Regions from separate parts of the Homo sapiens genome. Here regions 2, 3 and 4 are each linked to region 1. The links are contacts of gene promoters, found by promoter capture Hi-C in human tissues and cell types (Jung and others, 2019). All regions are on one chromosome and are shown on one strand. Each heading gives the region's core, a stretch centred on a gene start or on the middle of the fragment in contact. The rest is flanking DNA. Distances are from core to core; before and after follow the strand shown. Region 1 holds the start of TWIST1 (twist family bHLH transcription factor 1). Region 2 has its middle 130 kb from the start of HDAC9. Region 3 overlaps HDAC9 (histone deacetylase 9). Region 4 has its middle 38 kb from the start of HDAC9.

Evidence for each region. The method cuts DNA at HindIII sites, captures the fragments that hold promoters and counts their contacts. A contact is called where the count stands out against the background at its distance.
Region 2: a fragment that was not itself captured here is called in contact with the fragment with the promoter of TWIST1 in region 1 in 1 of the 25 tissues and cell types used here (mesendoderm cells).
Region 3: a fragment that was not itself captured here is called in contact with the fragment with the promoter of TWIST1 in region 1 in 1 of the 25 tissues and cell types used here (aorta).
Region 4: a fragment that was not itself captured here is called in contact with the fragment with the promoter of TWIST1 in region 1 in 1 of the 25 tissues and cell types used here (mesenchymal stem cells).

Annotation. Positions count from the first base shown.
Region 1 is chr7:19,116,248-19,118,947 of GRCh38, forward strand. TWIST1 (twist family bHLH transcription factor 1) reads right to left here and starts at 1,389. Exons shown (of 2, transcript NM_000474.4): 1 at 424-1,389. The coding sequence starts at 1,074. The coding sequence ends at 466. RefSeq lists enhancers at 396-655, 679-1,462, 2,536-2,700. The HindIII fragment of the contact is 7,370 bases long and covers 1-2,700 here.
Region 2 is chr7:18,363,477-18,366,298 of GRCh38, forward strand. It overlaps a transcript of HDAC9 not described here. Among named protein-coding and RNA genes, the nearest start is that of HDAC9, 130 kb to the right of the region's middle. The HindIII fragment of the contact is 4,073 bases long and covers 1-2,822 here.
Region 3 is chr7:18,604,042-18,606,741 of GRCh38, forward strand. The region is part of intron 6 of HDAC9 (histone deacetylase 9); the gene reads left to right. Among named protein-coding and RNA genes, the nearest start is that of HDAC9, 110 kb to the left of the region's middle. The HindIII fragment of the contact is 8,609 bases long and covers 1-2,700 here.
Region 4 is chr7:18,456,040-18,458,898 of GRCh38, forward strand. It overlaps a transcript of HDAC9 not described here. Among named protein-coding and RNA genes, the nearest start is that of HDAC9, 38 kb to the right of the region's middle. The HindIII fragment of the contact is 4,238 bases long and covers 1-2,859 here.

The DNA of each region.
Region 1 (2,700 bases), core at 139-2,638:
CCTGGAAGGATTTCAGCCCAAGGGCAAGAGGAAGTGGGTGGGTGGAAAGGAGGAGGAGGTGGAATTTGTTTTAAAACATTTGTTTTAAGGAGAACAAAAATTGAAAGCCGAAAGAAAGGGTGGCGCTGACAAAACGGTCCTTACCCGTGACCCTGGGTGTCTCTGTCTCCCCTCCTGTCACGCACACTCACGCGCACACACACCCCTCACCAGGGCGCATCCCCCTGGAGACTGCTCTCCCTAGCGGGGTCAGACCGGCCTTCCGGGGACGCTGGGGGCGCGAGGCAACGGTGCCAAGTGAGGTGGGAAGGCTGAGCGGAGAGTGGGAGAGGGGAGGAAATCGAGGTGGACTGGGAACCGCGGCCTGGCCGGCCTGCCGTCTGCCACCTGAGAGGCGAAGGGGTGCAGCGGCGCGGTCCTTACCTAGGTCTCCGGCCCTGCTGAGGGGGTGGGGGGCTCCGCCTGCTAGTGGGACGCGGACATGGACCAGGCCCCCTCCATCCTCCAGACCGAGAAGGCGTAGCTGAGCCGCTCGTGAGCCACATAGCTGCAGCTTGCCATCTTGGAGTCCAGCTCGTCGCTCTGGAGGACCTGGTAGAGGAAGTCGATGTACCTGGCCGCCAGCTTGAGGGTCTGAATCTTGCTCAGCTTGTCCGAGGGCAGCGTGGGGATGATCTTCCGCAGCGCGGCGAACGCCTCGTTCAGCGACTGGGTGCGCTGGCGCTCCCGCACGTTGGCCATGACCCGCTGCGTCTGCAGCTCCTCGTAAGACTGCGGACTCCCGCCGCCGCTGCTGCTGCCGCCGCCGCCGCCCGCGCCGCCGCCGCCGCCACAGCCCGCAGACTTCTTGCCGCGCTTGCCCTGGGCCGGGCTGCCCGGCTCGTCGCCGCCTCCGACGCCCCCACCCGCGGCTCCGCCGGGCCCCGCGCCGCCGCCCGCGCTGCGCCTGCTGCTGCGCCGCTTGCGTCCCCCGCGCTTGCCGCTCGGCGGCTGCTGCCGGTCTGGCTCTTCCTCGCTGTTGCTCAGGCTGTCGTCGGCCGGCGAGACTGGCGAGCTGGACACGTCCTGCATCATCTCTCGAGCGGCGACGCGTGGCCTCGCGGGCCCGGGGCAGAGGAGAAGAGCGGGGCGCCTCAGCCCGCCAGCTTCCCCCGCGCGCGGCGCCGGCCCGGGCGATGCGGCCCGCGGAGGAGAGAGCAGGAGGACGGACGGGAGGGACCTCCGCGGGGAGGGCGCGCGGGGGAGGCGGGGAGGGAGGCGGGAGGGGGAGGGGACGGTGTGGATGGCCCCGAGGTCCAAAAAGAAAGCGCCCAACGGCTGGACGCACACCCCGCCAGGCCTCCTGGAAACGGTGCCGGTGCTGCAGAGCCCGCGAGGTGTCTGGGAGTTGGGCGAGAGCTGCAGACTTGGAGGCTCTTATACCTCCGTGCAGGCGGAAAGTTTGGGGGCAGCAGTGTCATTGGCCTGACGTGAGGAGGAGGGACTTTTCGAAGTTTTATAGGAAAGTTTCCGCTTTCCAGTCCCCCTCCCCCGTCCCACCTCCCTTCCTCGGGGTCTAACAATTCGTCCTCCCAAACCATTCAAAAACGACCTGGCCCGGGCGGCCGGCCCCTCCACCCGCCTCCTAGCCGCCCTCCCCCTTCCCTCCCCGTCGCCTTCCTCCGGCGGGCGCGGGGCGATTTCCTTCCCCGCCGGAGCGTGCGGGCAGCGCCCCCGAACCCTAGCGCAGCCCAGGAAGCGGTCGGAGGAGACTGTCCTGGCCGCGGTGGCAGCCCCATCCGGAGTGGCTGTGACAGCAGCAATGGCAACAGCTTCTACACAGTGGGTGATGTCTCATCTCGCCCAAGAGCCCTCTAGGTCCGTGGGGCCGATTTGGGATTGCTGGGGCTGGGGGGGTGGTGTGGCGCGGGGTGGGGGGGCATGCCAAGAAAAGTGTCAACCGCGGAGCCCACCCAATGGTCAGGTAGACGAACCCCTTGGAGTTCCAAAGGCCAAACCGCGGCGGCCCAGCCCGGAGGTCCTGGGCGTTTCTGAAGACGTGGCCGCGCCGCGGGGGCTGAGGATTTGCGTCCCGGCCTGCTCTCTCGCCCTTCTGGGCCCTCCTTTCCCCTCTACAACGACCCAGTCTGACGCTCCCCAACATCCAAAGGACTACGCCTCGGAAGGTGCTCGAAAGAGGCAGAAGTTCACTCTTCGGTGGAAGGAAACCCAGTCCATGGGAAAGGCAGCAGAGCCAGAGGGGGGCAGCGCAGCGCCTTTGCTGCGGCCCTAACAGCTGGCAATGCCAACCCAAGGGAGAGACCCTGTGGCCATTTCATCCCCACCCCCAAATTAGGCTCCGCATTGTGACCTTGAAAGGCCAGCTTGTAAGAGAGTGAAGTGGGAATTTGATAGCGCCTAGACATAGGGGCTGCCCGCTCTGAGACCCCCCCCGCCCCAGCCCCCACTATCTAGGGCATCCAGTGGACAATTAGGCTTCGTGAGCCCCAATTCCAAATGCTTGGATACGCTAACATTTTAAGCATTTCTGTCTGTAAGTTAAAACGAAGAGCCCCAAAGAGGGTGTTAATGTAGATCCTGGCAAACTGGAAGCAGCAAAGTTGGTGAACCAGAAAGGAAGTCGCCTTGGATAAGAAGCCCATCTTTTGCAATGCCATACTTGTTTCCTTTTTGAAATGAATTGAGGTAAAATAACCGTTT
Region 2 (2,822 bases), core at 113-2,612, 750 kb before region 1:
GTTCATTTTCTTAAGAAAGAAAGAAAATGTTGTTATTATTATTTGCATTTGGTACTGTGCTATGTAAATAAATCAGTGGCATCTAAGTTAGACTTGATTTTGAAGTGCTGTTATTGATTCACTAAGAACCACTAAGTTTCTCCATCTGCTTCCTATTTACAAAATGGAGATGTTTTCTGTTTCTAATTTGCCCCTCAGAAGTGCAGTGTTATAAGGATTAATTAGAGAAAGCCAATGGGCTGAACAGTGAGGAAGACATAAATAGAGACAAACGGGGACATTACCAGGTGCCTCCTCTTTTTGTTCATGGTTGATCTTCAATCTCAATTTTTTTATACAAAGGGCATCTCATTGTATTATTTGGTCCAATGACTTGCATTGAAAGGATACTGACTGCCCCAGAATTCATTTGCTTTTCTTAGTGAAATGCCTTAACATTAATATTTTTCAGGGTCTAACTTTTCCTAAAGATTTTCAGGTCCCAGAATTTCATTCTGAATGGTTGGGCTTTATCAGATTATTTTTCAATAGCAAGCCATTCACTCTTTTACAATGTCTATCTATAAAATTTCCCACAATAGTTCATAATCCTCTTTTCAGCAGCCTTTTCTCCTTCTTTATCACTTCTTTTGTCCACTTATTTTCAGGATGCAAAGTTGGCGTCACTGACTTGCTCATGGCTTCTTGAACATCTGTGTGAGGCAGGATTGCTGAAGATCCCAGGCTTTTGAGTTAAACTGCCTGGGGCTGAATCCCTGTTCTAATCTGGCTGTGCAGTGTTAGTAATGGTACCTCCATTTAACCATCTTTAAAGCGAAAAATTTCTCATGGATTCCTGTGAGGATTAAGATAATATAAGGTCTGCGGCACCGGCATATGATAAATGCTCAAAATAGTACTATTACTTGTATTAACATTAGAAATAAACATTTAGGCACAAGGAAGGAAAAAATAAGCAATCAGGAGGAAGAAAAAGAGCAGTCAGAAAATGGTGAGAATTAGCATGGGGTGTGTTTTGAAAGTAAAGAAGAAGAGACAGTCATTCGAAAATAGAGAATTTTCTATACCTTTGCTACTCAGAATGGCTCCTGGACCAGCAGCATGGGCACCCTGGAAGCTTTCCAGAAATTCAGAATCTCAGGCCCCCAAAGCCCCAGGAATCTAAATCTGCATTTTAACAAAATCCCCAGGAGATTCATTTTAAAGCTTGAGAAGGCCTGGTCTACAACCTAACATGCAGCAGAGTTGACAGATGAGATTAAGACTAAACAAACCTTCGAATTTTCCTGCTAGACCTTTAGTGGAGAAAACAGGGAGGAATGAATAGGTGGCAAATAAAAGAGAGAAATCAGGTATTGATAATTCTTTCAGGAAGCTCAAAAATTAATCAGGGTGAAAAAACGTTAGATAATACCTTTAAAATGTAGCAGAATCGAAGGGAAATTTATTTTTATGAACAAGAAAAAGTTGAGTCTGTGTGCAGGTGGAGCTGAAGTGTCACACAGGGTAAAAGATTGAAAAGTAATGAATACATGAAGACATGGATAGCTAAGAGATGGGGCAAAGAGTGTTTGAAAAACATTGACAGCTGGTAAGTTTCAGAAAAACACCTTCATAGACTAGTGCAAAGATGGAAAGAGTGAGGTCAATAAGAGAGAAGATATGTAATTAGGTGTCTTCAGGGCTGTTTGCTGGGAGTAAGTAGGGCAGGAATGTTATTGGTAGCTGATGTTTTGATAGGGTTAGAACCACTTTGGTGAGTGAGATAGAACTAGAGTTGTAAATAAATTTTAGATCTAGTGTGAACTCTGATAGGTCGGAGCTGCATGGAATATTGTGTTGAGAAGGCTTCTGAGGCCAACATAATATTAACAGATAAGAGCTATGTATGTCATGAGCAGTTCCTGGCATTATAATTAGGGAGACATAGTAGTGTATGCTCTGCACATTCACCATCCCTGGTATAAAGGATCTCCTGGCCTTGTATGAAATTATTGAGTAGAAATAAAGAACTATAACATGAAAGTGTGATGAATCATTTTTGCAGTATTTTGTCTTCTTTCTCCAATAATCCTTAGCCTAGGAATAGAAAATACAGACAAGGGACTAACGAGCAGTAATAAGCTTATTTTTGAAAGGCTTGACTTTTATAGTCTTTATGACTTTTTTTTTTAATAAAAAAGCAAATAAAGCCTACATTTGAACAATTTTATGTTTTAAAAAGTGTGGGCTCTTGTATAGAACAGACTATGGAATTTGAACATCACATCTACTACTTTTTAGCTATGCCTTTGGGCAAATTATAGTTAAGCATTTTCTAGAATGAAAAACTCAGTTTTCTGAGTTTAATATTAGTAGTAATAATAACTAATAGTAATTTCCAAATAGAGTTGAAGAGAAGATTAAATGAATGTAACATCATGCCTGATGAATTCTTCTGCTGGTTACTTTTATCCTTTAGTGTTGTTTTCAGTTGTTTTTTTTTTTCTGTCAATTTCTTCTCTATTAAAAATTGTTTTCTGTCACCACGCAAAGCAACCAGGAATCATAGATTATGGTTGAAAAATCAAATGGCAGGCTATTTGAAAAATATTTATTTCAAAATTTTATTTGAAAAAATTCCCCACTGCTATAATTTAATGCTTATTCCTAATCTCCTTAATTTCCGTTGCTTTATGTATTATATAGAGATAAGGTGGAGGGAAACTGATCATGGGTGATGATAACTGCAGAACTGCTGTAAGCAAGGCTTGTTCAGAAACTGACAAATCTATTACAAAGTGACTCATGGAAGTGGAGGTTCTGTCACAAACAGGGTCAGT
Region 3 (2,700 bases), core at 76-2,575, 510 kb before region 1:
AGATCTCTTTATCTTTTATCTTCTGCAATTTGAACATGATATGTCTCGATACTGAGTTTTTGGTATTTATATTGTTTCATATTCTCTGAGATTCCTGTATCTATGGATTGGTGTCTGTCATTAATTTTGGATAATTCCCAGCCATTATTATGTCAAATATTTATTCTTTCTCTCTTTCTTGTTATTTTGCTATTCCCATTAGGAATATGTTATACCTTTTGCAATTTTCTTAGAGTATTGGGGAATTCTGTTCCATTTAAAAAAATTGTTTTTTGCCTTTCTTTTTAGGGAGTTTCTATTGACATATCTTCAAAGTTATTGATTCCTTCCTTAGCTGTGTCCAGTCTACTGATGAGCACATTTGGACCTTTTTTTTTTTTCTTGAGACGGAGTCTTGCTCTGTCGCCCAGGCTGGAGTGCAGTGGCGTGATCTTGGCTCACTGCAAGCTCTGCCTCCTGGGTTCACGCCATTCTCCTGCCTCAGCCTCCCGAGAAGCTGGGACCACCACCACGCCCAGCTAATTTTTTTTTTTAATTTTTAGTAGAGACGGGTTTCACCATGTTAGCCAGGATGGTCTTGATCTCCTGACCTCATGATCCGCCTGTCTCGGCTTCCCAAAGTGCTGGGATTACAGGCGTGAGCCACCGCGCCCGGATAAGACCTTTTTTAAATTTCTACTGCTGTGCTTTTGATCTCCAGCATTCCCTTTTCAATCTTTCCTAGAGTTTCCATTTCTCTGTTTATATTATCCATCTGTTGTTGCATGTTGCCAACTTCCCATTAGAACCCTTAACATACTACTTTTAGTTCCTTTAAGTTCCCTTTCTGTTAATTCCAAAATTTGTGTCATAACTGAGTCTGGTCTGATGTTTGCTTTGTCTCTTCTGATTGTTTTTCTTGCCTTTTAGGATGCTTTATAATTTTTTGTTAAAAGCTTGACATGATATATTGGACAATAGAAATTGAGTAATTATACTTTTGATGTGAGGTTTTATGTTAATCTGGCTGGGGCTGGGCTTTGTTTAATATCTGTTGTAGTGGTAAATGTCAGAGTCTTCAGTTTTCTCTAGTTTCCTTTGATTTTTTTCCTTCTCCTATTGCTTTGGGGTTTCCCTAAGAGCTCCTTCTTAAATAGAATTTGTGTCCTGTAGCTCCCTCAGTTTTAATTCACTGTTATAATACAGAACCTGGTTGATGTGATGGTAAGGCGTTGGACAGGAGAAATGTTCTATAACCTTACAACTAAATTTCATTTTTTTAAGTGGGCCTGACTTTGTATGCTGTGATCCCTTGAACTACTTCTTAGCCTGTTTCCTCCCCTTAAGTAAGATAGGAAGCTGAGATTTACTAATTGCCTTCTCCCTTAGGTCAGATAAGGCTCTGTAAAATATTTTCCCTTGGAGAGTAGGCTGTTGTTATGAAGAATCCTTCGTGTGTATTTCAAAATTGTTACTTTTTCATTAGACAAGTATTACAAAATGGTTACTTTTCTTCCCTCTCCCACGCCTACTCCCTACCTTCACTTAAACAGAAAGGGATTTTTTTCTCATATATTCACTGAGAGAAACTGGTTGGGTTCCTGGAAGTAAAACCCATGAAAATGTAGGATTCTTCTGAGACTGGGCCCCTGGAGTTTTGTTTGTTTGTTTGTTTTTTGAGACAGAGTCTTGTTCTGTCGCCCAGGCTGGAATGCAGTGGCATGATCTCGGCTCACTGCAAGCTCCGCCTCCCAGGTTCACGCTATTCTCCTGCCTCAGCCTCCCGAGTAGCTGGGACTACAGGCGCCCTCCACCATGCCCAGCTAATTTTTTGTATTTTCAGTAGAGATGGGATTTCATCGTGTTAGCCAGGATGGTCTCCATCTCCTGACCTTGTGATCTGCCCACCTCGGCCTCCGAAAGTGCTGGGATTACAGGTGTGAGCCACCATGCCTGGCTGCCCCTGGAGTTTTTAACTCTCAAGCTGGTTCACATTCAGCCTCCAGCAATTCATGCCTCCAACACCTCATTAAAATTACCTCATTTAAATATTTCTTCGTTACTGACTCCATTGGCTTCTGCTCACTGTAAGCTGAACTCAGCTGTGATTTTCTGTATTTTCCTATTTCTCCAGATTTTAGCATGGCAGTTTGCCCTGCAACCTTAATTCTCTGATAGATCTACGAAAATAATTTTAATTTTTACTTTGTTCAGCTTTTTACTTGTGGTGAGGTTGGGAGTGAAAATTTCCCAGTTCTTCACATGTGGAAATGAAACCAGAAGACTACCACTTACTTTTAAATCTGTAAAACATTAAAAATACTTTTTAAAACTCAACTTTTTCATTTTTTGAGGTGACAAATTCATATTTGAGCAATATTATTCTTACAAATTAATGATTATATTTATTTTAAAGATTAACATCAGTGTCCAGCTTGCTCATGATTAACAAGTTCATATGCTAAAAACTGAGAGAGAGAAAATAGGTTGAAATTATTTTAAGTCACATTTTGTAAGCAAGACTTGGGAATTGTAAGGACTTTTTGTCGATTTTTGTCTTACTGTTTTCATAACATTAAACCATTTAGCAAGGTATGAAAATCAAACCAATTTTTGACCTGTATCAAATTAGAAAATTTTAGCTTCTTTTCAAAATAAGACTCACTTTTAAAGTAATATTTTTTTCTAGATAATAATTTACTTTTTAAGCATTCATTTTGA
Region 4 (2,859 bases), core at 281-2,780, 660 kb before region 1:
AAATTTTCTTGGGATAGAAATGTAATGACATATTACATAAATAGGGTCCCCAGCACATTTTATTTCCTTGCTGATCGTATTAGGTAAAATAATTACAGCTGAGCTAGAACAAATTTTGATAAAATAATTTCATTCTACCATAAATTAAGTCATTTGCATTATTTGTCCAACTTTACTTTTGATTTGATTTGATTGGTTGGTTGGTTGATTTTTTTGAGATAGAGTCTTTCTCTGTTGCCCAGGCTGGAGTGCAGCAGTGTGATCTCCACTCACTGCAAACTCCACCTCCCGGGTTCAAGTGATTCTCTTGCCTCAGCCTCCCAAGTTACTGGGACACAGGCACATGCCACCATGCCTGGCTAATTTTTGTATTTTTAGTTGAGATGGGGTTTCACCATGCTGGCCAGGCTGATCTCGAACTCTTGACCTCAGGTATCCACCCACGTCGGCCTCCCAAAGTGCTGGGATTACAGGTGGTAGCAACCAAGCCCAGCCCACCTTTAGTTTTTGAGCTTATATATACTCACCACTTTCATTCATATGATTTATGAACCTGAAAAACAGTTGATGGAAGATATTAGAAAATAAGATTATGTATAACATTACACTAAATTTAAGGTTTGGCCTCTCTATTTCAGTTATGATTTTCTCTACACCACCTCTCTTCCTGTGTCTATAAAATGGGAATAACAATCCTTACTGTGTACTTACTTAAATGGGATGATTCGCAAGTTCCTCGTTCACAAGAGATTTTTCAAATTGTTTTTTATTTTCTAAATTGAATATGCAGTGATGTGCCATGCAGAACTCTGGTTCCAAGTTAAAAATGTCCAATTCAAATAGCTGCAGGGTATTTATTGGCTCACATAAACGATGGCCCTGGAAGTAGAACCAGCTTTATATATAGCTATACTCGGGAGTCACACATAGTTTTATCCACCTTCAGTTTTGCTACAAATTGTGTTGTCCTCAAACTCAGGTTTTCTGGTATAGAAAGATGGCAGTGGAGCTCAAGTGCCTACCTTTTCTGAGACCTTAGTCTAGTAGATTTCCATTCCCAGGATTCCTTGGAGATACTTGTTGAATCTCAGAGATTTTGATTAACTCAGCATGTCCATTTCTTAACCCTTGCTAATGAGAAAGAAGAGAATAAAGCTTTTTTCATTTCATATCCCAGAAAATGTGCATGCAGTTCTGCTCCCATTTTTCCTACAGTATTTCAAGTGAACCACTCAGTGACAATCCCATCAACTTATACTGCCTTACTCTTTTAATTTAATATGAAATAGAACTGTCATTAACTGAAAGGGAAATTGCTTCAGTGAATATATTTGTGAAGAAATAAAATTGCTTCAGTGAATATATTTGTGAAGAAATAAAATTCATGAGATATTATAAATTTGATTTGCCTTCAAAATTTTAATTTAACTTTTAAAATTAGTTACAAAATATAGTTTTAAAAATAATCTAATTATTCATAAACTTTTAATTGAGAGTTTCTTTCTGATTAGTTGCTGTCTGCCCCTGTGCAGCTGACCCATTATATTTACAAATTGGTTGATCTCTGCATATAGGCCATAATAGTTTTATAAACTGTAGGTTATAAACGTCTGCTCTAATTAATTTTCTTTCATATCAACTGAATTTGATGTTGTTGAGGCATTAGTGAGTTTTTTAAAAATAGTTTACATAGAGCTTCATTTTGTTGATTAGTCAAAAGTATTGTTAAACTGGCTTCATGGTGTTTGAAATCACCTATTTTCAGGTGATAAGACTTTCTAAATTGATTTTTCCTTGTTCCTGGATGGGTCTTATTCTGCCAGATGGGAGTTAGATCACTTCCATTGAAAGAGAGTCTGCATGTGTTCCCAGAAGCACACACGTGTATGCAAATGCACACACTGACACTACAGAGTCTGGTTCGTGTGTTCTTTCTCACTATCTGAGGTTGTGTATGGCCATACACGCCTCAGATGGGGTTGGTTTTTATAAAAACGTTAAGGCTGAATCATATTTGTTGTATTGTGACATTTGCTGCCTTGCCATCAAAGAGTAGGTGCCTTTGTGCTGACAACTCTTTGGCATTTTGCCCCAGGGAAGTGTTGCATTATCAAAAGAGACGCTCACCCTCTCAGTGCCAGGGTGCTGGTAATTAAATCGTGGATGGTTGACCAGAATTCACAGGTGAAAATGATGAAAAGAATGTATTGAAATGAAAACCTGAACTAGGCAGCATTATATCTAATGAGCAAGAGGAGAGCTCTTTTAGGCTTGGTAACTTAGATGAGCATATGTGAACTATGGCTAATGCTTCTGATAGAAAATGGTTACTAGGAAACCATAAAAAACCCTCTAATTATGTGACCTCCAAGCTATACCAATAAATATAGAATTCAGATGAGTTTGTGCTAAAACCAGTAGTAACCCACTAATATTATTAATACTCTTGTAGTTTGTTTCCAAAGGAAGTAAGATTTATTGTCCTTTTAAGTACTGGATAACAATTCACAAAGATTGAATTTATTTAAAAGTTCATAGCCAATGCTACTGTGTTTTAACTGATGAATTTTGGTTTCCTTTTGCAGTGTTCTGTATCATGGCGAAAGGTCACAAAATAATATCTTGCTATCAAAACTTTTTTTTGTGGCTTAACTAGGCAAAACTTCGATTAATAAATGATAAGCTGTAGACCTCTACTCAGAGTAGTAACAAAGAGAGAGCTGGAGGTGGTGGCTCTTGCTTGTCACTCCAACTCCCATGGAGGGTCCTTCCTTCTTCAACCTGACTTTCTTATCCCCACAGACCTCATGTGGAACCTTGTACCATGGGTGCTATTCTGTGGCTGCTGTAGGATCTTCC